3 separate regions of the Homo sapiens genome follow, and all the other regions are linked to region 2. The links are contacts of gene promoters, found by promoter capture Hi-C in blood cells and fetal thymus (Javierre and others, 2016). All regions are on one chromosome and are shown on one strand. The core of a region is centred on a gene start or on the middle of the fragment in contact, and the rest is flanking DNA. Distances in the headings are between cores, read along the strand shown. Region 1 overlaps DVL3 (dishevelled segment polarity protein 3). Region 2 holds the start of PSMD2 (proteasome 26S subunit ubiquitin receptor, non-ATPase 2). Region 3 overlaps ABCF3 (ATP binding cassette subfamily F member 3).

What was found. Contacts are between HindIII fragments. The CHiCAGO score rates a contact against its expected background, and 5 or more counts as called.
Region 1: a contact is called between a fragment that was not itself captured here and the fragment with the promoter of PSMD2 in region 2, in 14 of 17 cell types (naive CD4 T cells, non-activated CD4 T cells, naive CD8 T cells and 11 more). The highest score is 12.3, in naive CD4 T cells.
Region 3: a fragment that was not itself captured here is called in contact with the fragment with the promoter of PSMD2 in region 2 in 2 of 17 cell types (naive CD4 T cells and total CD4 T cells); the score reaches 5.9 in naive CD4 T cells.

The regions. Positions count from the first base shown.
Region 1 is chr3:184,170,213-184,174,523 of GRCh38, forward strand. It overlaps DVL3 (dishevelled segment polarity protein 3), which reads left to right. Exons shown (of 15, transcript NM_004423.4): 14 at 1-9; 15 at 107-3,402. The coding sequence ends at 543. Among named protein-coding and RNA genes, the nearest start is that of AP2M1, 2.5 kb to the right of the region's middle. RefSeq lists an enhancer at 1,329-1,623. The HindIII fragment of the contact is 3,938 bases long and covers 1-3,463 here.
Region 2 is chr3:184,296,649-184,300,490 of GRCh38, forward strand. It overlaps PSMD2 (proteasome 26S subunit ubiquitin receptor, non-ATPase 2), which reads left to right and starts at 2,593. Exons shown (of 21, transcript NM_002808.5): 1 at 2,593-2,753; 2 at 3,203-3,259; 3 at 3,632-3,796. The coding sequence starts at 2,619. RefSeq lists a silencer at 2,261-2,600. The HindIII fragment of the contact is 6,965 bases long and covers 1-3,842 here.
Region 3 is chr3:184,191,529-184,195,303 of GRCh38, forward strand. ABCF3 (ATP binding cassette subfamily F member 3) reads left to right here. Exons shown (of 21, transcript NM_018358.3): 17 at 1,073-1,161; 18 at 1,277-1,368; 19 at 1,574-1,706; 20 at 1,837-1,924; 21 at 2,012-2,477. The coding sequence ends at 2,170. Among named protein-coding and RNA genes, the nearest start is that of ABCF3, 7.2 kb to the left of the region's middle. The HindIII fragment of the contact is 4,453 bases long and covers 1-3,686 here.

The DNA.
Region 1 (4,311 bases), core at 245-2,744, 130 kb before region 2:
ACAGCGAAGGTAAGGTAGAGGGGCCGTGGAGGAAGGCTATAGGTGGGCCCCAGGCTTCCCCCGCCCGCTCAGCCTGCCCCACCCCGGCCCTGTTTGCCTCCTACAGGCAGTCGGAGCAGTGGCTCCAACCGTAGCGGCAGCGATCGGAGGAAGGAGAAGGACCCGAAGGCCGGGGACTCCAAGTCCGGGGGCAGCGGCAGCGAATCGGACCACACCACACGCAGCAGCCTGCGGGGGCCGCGGGAGCGGGCGCCCAGCGAGCGCTCAGGGCCGGCGGCCAGCGAGCACAGCCACCGCAGCCACCATTCCCTGGCCAGCAGCCTTCGCAGCCACCACACACACCCGAGCTACGGTCCTCCCGGAGTGCCCCCTCTCTACGGCCCCCCCATGCTGATGATGCCCCCGCCGCCCGCGGCCATGGGGCCCCCAGGAGCCCCTCCGGGCCGCGACCTGGCCTCAGTGCCCCCGGAACTGACCGCCAGCAGACAGTCCTTCCGCATGGCCATGGGAAACCCCAGTGAGTTCTTTGTGGATGTGATGTGAGCAGGGCCCCTCCCCCAGCTCCATTCCGCTCCCACCCCAGCCGGCTGCGTTCCTCTCTCCATCCGTCCGTCTTTTTTACTTTGTCTGGTACCTGAAAGGGAAATAAAAGGAACTAAATCCAGGTGCGCTAACTGCTCGCAGGGTGCTGCGAGGGTGGGGTGCACCTACCGATTGGCTCTGCAGCCCCCTAACCTGCCTCTGGCCCCAGTTCGTTTCCTCTGCCCACTAATCCCTGCGCAGGACTTCCCAGGACCCCTTTTGTCTCTGGGACCAGACTTGTTGGTGCTACCCCTTACTCCCCTCTGCAACCCCCATTTTGGGAGTTGACCCCAGCAATGACCTTGGTGGCACGCTCACTCCCTCATTCTCTCGTTTCCCCTTTAGCTCCCTTTCACCATTTATTCAGCTACATCATCCCTCTATTAACCCCACCCCATCAGGCACGTGTGCAAACCTCTTGACTTTACCCCACATTACTGAAACCAAAATATATTTGCTTCATCTGCCCCTACTAACCATCCCCCTGCCTGCTGCCTCAGTCCTGCAACCTAAAGCTGTAGTCGCCTCCAATAGCCATCCATGCCATCCCTGCCTGTGCCTAGATCAGAGGCCCAGAGGGCCCCCTCAGTTGCCTGAGCAGCTGGTGGCTTCCAGGGAGCATCTCTGCTCTACCCCTGCCCCATGCCTGCCCTGCGTGCTGGTTCCTTCAGACCCCTAACCCTACTAACCAGCAGGCTCATCTCACCTCCAGGCCTGAAACATTTCTTTTCTTTCTTTTTTCCTCCCCCAATTTACCCTGGGCCTGGAGCAGCCAAGAATTTCGGGCTGTTTGACTTTCTGTGAGCCCCCAGCGAGGGGAGGCCCAGCCTCCGAGGAGACCAGGAACCCTGCTTCAGCAGCCCCTCAGGGCTTCCCAAGGATGTCCAGCCCCCACACCCACACGTTAACATAATGAGTCACTAGGCTTCTGGGGAGGGCCCAACTTCACCCATGCATGAGAGACTCTCCTCCTTTCCAGAGAGAATCGGATCGCACCACGTGTGGCAGCCTGCGGCGGGGGGAGGGGGGCCTCTTTAGCTCTCTTTATCTTTCTCTCTCACTCATGTATGCATACATGCACAGAGATGCATACACAGGTGCCTATGCAAGTTCATTTAAGCCTCAGGGCTGGTCCCTGCCCAAAGGGCTGGACCCTCCTAATCCTCTCCTAGGTTGTGGGGCTGGTCCCCTGACACCCTTCTCCCCTTCCTGGTAGACCTTAAACCTCGCACACATGTCCCCAGCATTTTCTCACCTGGATAAAGCCCATAAGCTGGGTCTCAGGCTGGGCTCAGCAAAGGACTCGCCTTGCAACCGACAGGCCATTCCCACCCCCACACACAACCTCCCCTGTTTTCACATTCACCATGGCATCCCAGAGCAAGGACACAGGAGCCCACAGGCCAGTTGAGGTTGGGCAAGGAGACTTCCAGGACTTCCAGACAGAGTACCAGGTTTTATTTTTCACCTTATTCTCTACTTTAAACAAATCATAACTTTCTCTTTAAGCCTCTGCTATAAATTCTCCTGGCTCTCCTGGGCTTCCATATTTTGGGGGCTGGGGTGTCAAAAGTGAGATGAAGTTCTTAGCTCCAGGTTTTGGGGTAAACCAAGGTAGGAACATTTTGGCATTTATTTCAATTAACAATACTTCCTTGGACGGGTGCGGTGGCTCACGTCTGTAATCCCAGCACTTTGGGAGGCTGAGACAGGTGGATCACTTGAGGTCGGGAGTTCGAGACCAGCCTGGCCAACATAGCAAAACCCTGTCTCTACTAAAAATACAAAAATTAGATGGGTGTTTTGGCACCTGCCTGTAATCTCAGCTACTCAGGAGGCTGAGGCACAAGAATCGCTTGAATCCAGGAAGCAAGCGGAGGTTGCAGTGAGTTGAGATCGCACTCCAGCCTGGGTGACAGAGTGAGATTCTGTCTCAAAAGCAAACTAACAAAGAAAAACAATACTTCCTGGGGTTTTGGTGTGCAGAGGGCTTTGTTGGAAGTGTGACTCAATCTTGCCTGCCTTCTGGGAGCTCTAGAATTGTTCCCAACCCAGTCCATGGCTTCTAGCCACCACTACAGGGCTGTTTCATGTACTTCTCTCTCTGACTCTGTCTTGTCCGACTCTCTTGAGAATTTCTCAACGATTGCTCATGCCTGTCAGTATCAGTGCTTCCATCGTTCCATCTTTGATTCACTTCTCTTTCCTTTCTATTTACTCCCAAAATGGAGTCATTCATCCTGATGTCCTCAATTGCTGCTGATATGCTGGTGATTCCCAAATACATAGCTCCAACCCCCAACTTCCCCCAGACTTTAGATCTGTATTGGTATTACCTACTGGACATCTCTATGGACAGTTCCGTATAGACTCAACTCATCTGCCCAACCAAGTATGTTCCTCCTGAATTCCTCTCCTGGTTACTTCATCACAATCTACATAGGCTCACCAGCTAGAAACATTTATGAGCTTACATTCCTTCTTCCCATATCTTATCAGCATATCATATCCATTTCACTCCAACACTCTGTCTTGAATTTGGCCCTCCCTCTCCCCTCTCTACTTTAATTCATTGGAGCATGGGATTTGGAGTTAGGTGGTTTTGGGTTTGAATTCCAGCTCTACTATTTTTGGTTGTGTGATAGAGTTATTTAACCTCTCTGAGCCTCAGTTCCCTCGTATGTAAAATGATGATAATAATACCTACCTCACAGGGTTGTTGTGAGGATTTAAATTAGATATTGTACGAAAAGTGCCTAGCACAGTGCCTGGCACACAGTAGAGTAGGTGCTCAATAAATGGTAGCTATTATTATTATTATTTTATCATTATTATTATTTACTCTAAATTGGTAGCAGTTTAGGGTATTTTTGGAAGATAAAGCTTTTGCAAAGGTAGAAGTGAAGCCTTGAGTGCTGGTTCAAAAATTAGAAGTGCCTGTATTCAGTCACTTAATGACTTCAGGCCGTGACTATGATGTGAGAGAGGTCAGATCTTCATCCTGCCACATCGTGGCTTCTGGCTGGAGGCTGGGAAGGACTGTAACATTTGCAACCAGATCTGTCCTTTCTTGCCCTTCCTTCCTCCCATGACAGGCGTAGTCCTGCCCAAGGAAGGCAGCAGTTTATCTCTGCCTACAGAAAGAGAAGAGCCAACAGATTTTCTTAAGACTCTGCAAGAACCAAGCAGGCCTTTCATGTGTGAGGGTTGGGTCTGTCTCCTCAGCTTGGATGTAAAGATTCTGTTTATCAAAGAGGGGATTTCAAATCCCATGTCAAACTAAATTCAACTCTTCGAACGTCTTCTAAGCAACATATATGCCTGTCACTAGAAGGCATACACAGTCGCATAGGTATAGCTAAGGAGAACATCGGCTCGTTCATGAAAAGCTGTAGCTGACCTCCGGGAAGAGTGTACAGTCATGGACTTATTTGTGAAAAGGTTTAGTTTCTTCCAAGTAGTCGCCTCCTTCCTCCCCGCTCCTCTCCTTGGGTCTTGATCCCTTGGAAAAAGCTCATGTCCGGAACAAATATATGAGAAAAGCTTGAGAGAATCAGAGGTAGTGTTAGAAAGCAGTAAATTCAGCACAAACACTTCTACTGCCCAGTTGTATTTATTTGTGTGTAAAGTGAGGACAGCCAGTCCTGGGACTCTGGAGACAGAAAAGGCCTACAGCAATCCAAGGCTTAACAGATGTGCTTCCACAAATGGCATTAATATCCCAAAGCT
Region 2 (3,842 bases), core at 1,343-3,842:
TTCCAGTGCCTAGTTCTGGCCTCCAAAGACAGCTCCCAGTGGGTTGTTATTATACACAAAGATGGCCTGAAGATGAATGCAAAGCCATTCATTCATTCATTCATTCCGCATGCATGCATTCTGCAAATATTTATCAAGGCTCACTACAAGCCAGGCGCTAGGCTGGAGGCTAGGAGCATAAAGATGAATAAGACACAGTTCCAGGCCGGGCGCAGTGGCTCATGCCTGTAATTCCAGCACTTTGGGAGGCCAAGGCAGGCAGATAACTTGAGGTCAGGAGTTCAAGACCAGCCTGGCCAACATGGTGAATCCCCGTCTCGACTAAAAATACAAACATTAGCGGGGTGTGGTGGTGCATGCCTGTAGTCCCAGTTACTTGGGAGGCTGAAGCAGGAAAATCACCTGAACCCGGGAGGCAGAGGTTGCAGCAAGCTGAGATCATGCCACTGCACTCCAGCCTGGACGACAGAGCGAGACTCCGTCTGGAAAAAAAAAAAAAAAAGAAGAAGGAAGTCATGGATAAAGAGGAGTTTTAGAAAAAAATCCCTCTACAGATGACTGAAGAAAGCATGAAAATGTATGGACACCGTGAAGCCAGAGATAGAATAGGCAGAACAGTTATGGACTGTTGAATTTTTGTCTGCAGACCAGCGCTGGGGGAGTCATTGGCAATGGCAATGGAAGGTCATGCCTAGAATCCAAGCACTGAGTGGAAAAGAGCAACAGGTATTTAAAATGGATTCAGACCTTTACTTCCGTATCTACACAAACATTTACCCAACATTCACTCTGTGATATGTTGTACTAGGTGTCTTTTTCTTCAATGTGTCAGAACCCATAAAATAAGATTGCTAGAAGACTCCTGAGTGTTCCCACTAGGTGAAAGGGAGAAGAGATACTTCCTTTTTTCTCACCTTACACGCACACACACACACACACAGCTGAAGAAGAAACTCTGGGGTTTGCCTAAAACAGTCAAGGGCTTTGAAGACTGAAAGACTGAGCTTTAAATTTTGATTCCGCCGGGCGCGGTGGCTCACGCTTGTAATCCCAGAACTTTGGGAGGCCGAGGCGGGCGGATCACCTGAGGTCGGGAGTTGGAGACCAGCCTGACCAACATGGAGAAACCCCGTCTCTACTAAAAATACAAAAATTAGCCGGGCGTGGTGGCACAAAAATTCAACAGTCCATAACTGTTCTGCCTATTCTATCTCTGGCTTCACGGTGTCCATACATTTTCATGCTTTCTTCAGTCATCTGTAGAGGGATTTTTTTCTAAAACTCCTCTTTATCCAGCTACTCGGGAGGCTGAGGCAGGAGAATCACTTGCACCCGGGAGGCGAAGGTTGTGGTGAGCCGAGATTGCGCCATTGCACTCCAGCCTGGGCAACAGGAGAGAAACACTATCTCAAAACAAATAAATAAAATAAAAAATAAATCCTCATTTTACTACTTGATATGATCTTCTCTGTAAAATGGACCTAACCCTACCAATCTCAAAAGATTGTAAGAAGTGCATGGAATCACTCGAAAGCAGTCCTGACATAAGCGCGTCAGTCACACGCCTCTAAGGCTTCACAGGGAAAGACGAGAAGATAGAGGACGAAGACCTTGTCTTGTTCTGCTTTTAGCTCCAGAACTTGGCGGGGAGCACAGGGCTTTATTGATCGATGTCAACTCCACCTGGCTCCCCAAAGTATTTAAAATGGTAGCCACGGGAATAGCAGAGTACTCTCTTTCAACTGGGGAGGAATATCAAATGAGGTTAATAGGCCGGGCGCGGTGGTTCACACCTGTAATTACAGCTCTTTGGGAGGCTGAGGCGGGCAGATCACTTGAGGTCAGGAGTTCGAGACCAGCCTGGCCAACATAGTGAAACCCCCGTCTCTACTAAAAAATACAAAAATTAGCTGGGCGTGGTGGCGGGCGCCTGTAATCCCAGCTACTCGGGAGGTTGAGGCACGAGAATCACTTGAACCTGGTAGGCGGAGTTTGCAGTGAGCCGAGATCGCGCCACTGCACTCCAGCCTGGGCGAGAGAGCGAGCCTCCTTCTCAAAAGCAACAACAACAACAAAACCAAATGAGGTTAATATTCCACAGTGGTGTGGGGCTAGACACAGTTACACAGACTTTATACAGGCGGCAATCAAGCGTCCTGGACGTCAAGAAATCTAGTTTGTCTGTCGCGCCACGCAGTCAACTGGAGTGTCACTGTGGGTTCTATTTACACCGTTATGAGAAAAACCTGTGGCGGAGTAAAACTCGGTAACTCCGCTCGCAGACCGCCCATCTACAGCAGTGAGCGAACCCAAACCCCACACGGCCAAGTCCCGCGGGTTTCAGGAAACTCCGAAGAGGTCGGGGGCCAGGGGCGACTATGGCGCGGGGGAGGCTGGGAATTGTAGTCTCCACCTGCCTCCGAGGGCGGGGTCCGAGGGCGGGGCTCTCAGGCCGAGGGGGTGGGTGGGTCGCCGAGCGCCCCGGCTCGCCCCGGCGTTTCCGGTCGCAGGCGGGCTCTGGAGGAGGAGGGGCGCCGCGACCGACGCGCGCGAGTTGGTCTGGGAAAAAGGGCGGTGCGAGCGGGTGCGCGCGCAGCGGGCCGGCAGTGGCGGCGGAGATGGAGGAGGGAGGCCGGGACAAGGCGCCGGTGCAGCCCCAGCAGTCTCCAGCGGCGGCCCCCGGCGGCACGGACGAGAAGCCGAGCGGCAAGGAGCGGCGGGATGCCGGGGACAAGGACAAAGAACAGGAGCTGGTGAGGCGCGACCCCGAGAGTCGGCGAAGGAGGCTGCGGGGCTGAGTCACGGCGGCTCCGCAGGCCTCAGGCCCGACACCCAACTACCCCACCGCGCCAGGGAGAGGGCGGTTGGGGCGACCCTCGGGACTCCCGGCACCTTGCCTCTCTGCTCCTCATTCTCCGTTCCGCGCTGTCACCTCCGCCGTCCCCACCAACCCTCACCACCGCCGCGTGAAGTGGACTCGGGCAGGTCATTGTCACCTCCGTTTCCTAGAGTGGCATTCAAGTAGAGCCTGATTCAGAACCCAGGCTGATTTCTCACCAGGGCTTCCCATTCCCACTCGGTTTCCTTGTCCACCTGGCCCCTCCTAAGGAGGCAGGCTTATTCTTCACCTGCCCCGGGTAAGTGGGAGGAGGACGTCTTTGGGATTCCTTCTCTTCATGAGCTGCTTCTCCCAACCCTCCAGTCTGAAGAGGATAAACAGCTTCAAGATGAACTGGAGATGCTCGTGGAACGACTAGGGGTGAGTCACGATGTTAACATGATTCGGTGCATGTTTGGATCTTTCCCACTTGTTTTATTCTTTTTTGAGGCAACTGCTATGTACGGTGGACTGTATTTTAGGGTCAGTGTTATGATGATGTTGGGAGGCAGGAGAGTTACAAAGGGTATTTGTACAGTTTTGCAGCTTTCTCTTGTGGGAGAAGCAGAGTTCTTACCTCTTAACTTGGGTCATTTGTTTTTGTGCCAGGCAGGGTGCAGGGAGTTGAGGAATCACAGATGAATGAATAAGACACAGCATTTCCTTGGAGGAGTTGTTAAGTTAAATATCTCTGTATTATGACTTGAAGGGGTGTGACTCCTTTTTGTCTGAGCCCTGTCGTCTCTTGATCAGGAGAAGGATACATCCCTGTATCGACCAGCGCTGGAGGAATTGCGAAGGCAGATTCGTTCTTCTACAACTTCCATGACTTCAGTGCCCAAGCCTCTCAAATTTCTGCGTCCACACTATGGCAAACTGAAGGAAATCTATGAGAACATGGCCCCTGGGGAGAATAAGGTAAAACTGTTTCAAACCTGGTGGAGGCCTAGTTTAGGAATTCCTT
Region 3 (3,775 bases), core at 210-2,709, 110 kb before region 2:
TAAACCTGGAGACATTGAGGAGAGAGCATGGGCTTCAGGGTCAGACTTCGGATCTTGACTATGCCATTTCCTAGCTTGGTTACCAAGCAGCTTCCTAACTCTTAAGATGGCGCTGACATCTACCTCACTTGGTTCTTGGGAAAAGTAAGTCCCCAGCACTTAGCAAATACTCAAGTATTGCTCACCTTAGTATATGCATTTTTCTGTAGAGTTAGAGTTCCTTTTTTTTTTTTTTCGGAGACAGAGTCCTGCCCTGTTGCCCCGGCTGGAGTGCAATGGCACAATCTTGGCTCACCGCAGCTTTCGCCTCCCGGGTTCAAACAGTTCTCCCTCAGCCCCACAAGTAGCTGAGATTACAGGCACCCGCCACCATGCCCAGCTAATTTTTTGCATTTTTAGTAGAGATGGGGTTTTACCATATTGGCCAGGCTGGTCTCAAACTCCTGACCTCAAATGATCTGCCTGCCTCAGCCTCCCAAAGTGCTGGGAATACAGGCCTGAGCCACCGTGCCCGGCTAGAGTCCTTAAAAATATTTTTTTGGTTGTTGAAGGAGTCATCGGGACTGGGGACTGCCTGGGACCCCTTCTAATTTCCTTCTCCTCTGTGTTACACACAGCGGTGCTCTTTTTATTGATACATAATTGTACATATTTATGGGGTACAGAGTGATACTTCCATGCATGTATACAATGTGTAATGATCAAATCAGGGTAATTAGCATATTCATCATAAACATTTATCACTTTATGTTGGGAACATTCAGAATCTTCTAGCTTTTTGAAAATGTACAGTCTATCATTGTGAACTGTAGCGTCCCTGCAGTGCTGTAGAACCCTAGAACTTATTCCTCCATTCCTCCTATCTAACTGCAATTTTGTTTCAGTTAACCAACCTCTCCCGAACCCCTCTCTCAATTCCCCTCCTCCCCCCTTATCCTTCCCAGCCTCTAGTAACCACAACTCTGCTCTCTACTTCTATGTGCTCAACACTTTTTAGTGCCCACATATGAATGAGAACATACCGTATTTATTTTTCTGGCACACACTGTATGACATTTTCATGTTTCTTAAGGTTGGAGAGAATGGGGCTGGGAAGTCTACCATGCTGAAGCTGCTTTTGGGGGACCTGGCACCTGTTCGGGGCATCAGACACGCTCACAGGTCAGGCCCACCCGCACCCCTGCCCCCATGAGCACATTTGCAGGCACCCATGCTGCCTGCGCTCCTTCGTGGCCATTGCCTTTGTCTGTTTTTCCACCTCGGCTTCTGCCTGCAGGAATCTGAAGATTGGCTATTTCAGCCAGCACCATGTGGAGCAGCTGGACCTAAACGTCAGTGCTGTGGAACTGCTGGCACGCAAGTTTCCTGGTGAGTTAGGGATTTGAGTCGGGGGAAGAGTTTGAGTAGGGAAGAGGGCTGAGGCTGACCCCGGCAGCTAGGCCTGCCTTGGGGTGCGTGCAGAGCAGCCCCGCCAAGCCTAGATGGAAGGACATGGGGACTTGGAGGTGTGGCTGGAGGGCACAGGGAGGGTGTTGGGCCAAGAAGCCACCTGATCTGGGGAGTCCTTTTCCAGGGCGGCCTGAGGAGGAGTACCGTCACCAGCTGGGTCGGTATGGCATCTCCGGAGAACTGGCCATGCGTCCTCTTGCCAGCCTGTCTGGGGGCCAGAAGAGCCGAGTGGCCTTTGCTCAGATGACTATGCCCTGGTGAGGCCTCATTTTCCAGAGCTCTTCCCCTCCCATTTCCCCTTCTTGCCCAGTAGAAAACTGTATCAGAAGGCTTTATTTTCTCTCACCGCACCCCTTCACTGCCCACCTTCCTGGTTCTGCCTTCCAGCCCCAACTTCTACATTCTGGATGAACCCACAAACCACCTGGACATGGAGACCATTGAGGCTCTGGGCCGTGCCCTCAACAATTTCAGGGTGAGTGTGCCTTCACCCTGACCACTCCTCCCAGGCCTCGGTGCCTCTTGTGTCCCCCTGAGCACCTCCTGCCCTCCTGTCTTTCAGGGTGGTGTGATTCTGGTGTCCCACGATGAGCGCTTTATCAGGCTGGTGTGCCGGGAGTTGTGGGTATGCGAAGGAGGCGGCGTCACCCGTGTGGAAGGAGGATTTGACCAGTACCGCGCCCTCCTCCAGGAACAGTTCCGCCGCGAAGGCTTCCTCTAGGGCCACCAGGCTGAGGACTCGCCCAGGACATGGACTGGTCTCTCAGACCCCTGGGCCACCATGTAGGCCACCACTCCAGGCCGTGGACTTCCCCCAACTTGGGGACAGCCTTATTCCCAAATGTCTCTATCCTTTTGACTGGAGCATCTTCTGCACAACCTTGGGAGCCCATCCAAGGGTTGGTGAGGACTGGTCTCCCGGGGGTGGGGGTCTGGGGGGTACCCTCTGGGGTTATAGATTCCCCCACTGCCCCAGCTCTGACTGGACCCCAAGTGGCTGCTATGTAAATTAAATCTCTCCCCGCGTCTCCTTTGCCTCATGTCTGCTGCTCCCTGGGCAGTGGTTGCCTCCTACTGAGGGCTGTGGACTCTCGGATTGGCGTTTTCCTATGGCACTTGTATCCCTCACGTGTAGGAAGCAATAGCAGCACCAGCCTTGCCTCTAGAAGAGACATTGTCAAGCTACTGGGGCATGGAGGTCATCTGCCTGCCTGACCTTGGGGTGGGCTGAGCCAGTGGAATGAAGGGCAGTGTATTGGCATCATTGCGGTGCTGTTAGCCCTAGCCTGGGCTCAGCCTCAGCTGAAGGGGTCTTGGGTTCTGTCGTCACAGCCCCCACTGATGGGCAGTTGAACTGATTGTGTAACCTGGCCTCACACGTGGCCAGCTGCTTTCTCCAGTCATATCTGGCTCCGGCTTGCCCTGCTTCTCTGCTCTCTAGACTCAGCACTGAAGAGAAACCATCTTTGTCCTCACTTTGCTTGGGTGATTGCATGTTCTTTATATTTCCTCTAACCATATAGGAGGGGCCTGGGAAATAGGGAATTTAGGACAGGGTCTAACAGGAAGGCATAGAACACTTTCTTTTCAAATGAAGCAATCTTTAAGAGGGGAGAGATGTTGAACACAGGTAGTATCATTTATAAATATTATTTCTTGAGGAGTTAGCTGTTATATGTCATTGTTATGCAGAGGACGTTAAAATAGAGACATTTGAGCTGAGCACAGTGGTACGCACCTGTAGTCCCAGCTGTTGGGGAGGCCAAGGTGGGAGGATTGCTTGAGCCCAGGGGTTTGCGGCCAGCCTGGGAAACTTAGCAAGACCACTTCTCTCAAAAGAAAAAAATAAAACAGACATATTGCGTTGCTCTCAGTGACAACAAAGTCAGCAGAAAGAACTTGCCGCCTTCATGCAGATTGTAGTCAAAAAGCTCGACCAGGCCAGGAGCAGTGGCTCACGCCTGTAATCCCAGCACTTTAGGAGGCCAAGGTGGGCAGGTCACCTGAGGTCAGGAGTTCAAGACCAGCCAGGCCAACATAGGGAGGCCCCGTCTCTACTAAAAATACAAAAATTAGCCAGGTGTGGTGGCACATGCCTGTAGTCCCAGCTACTCAAGAGGCTGAGGCAGGAGAATAGCTTGAACCTGGGAGGCGGAAGTTGCAGTAAGCTGAGATCGTGCCATTGCACTCAGCCTGGGCGACAGAGCGAGACTTCTTCTCAAGAAAAAAAAAAAAAAAGCTTGACCAAAGAATCTTAACTCTGAGCTGCTGAGGGTAGCATGGTATGGGTCGCCGGGGAGAGAGCCCTGTTTCGGGGGTTAAAGAA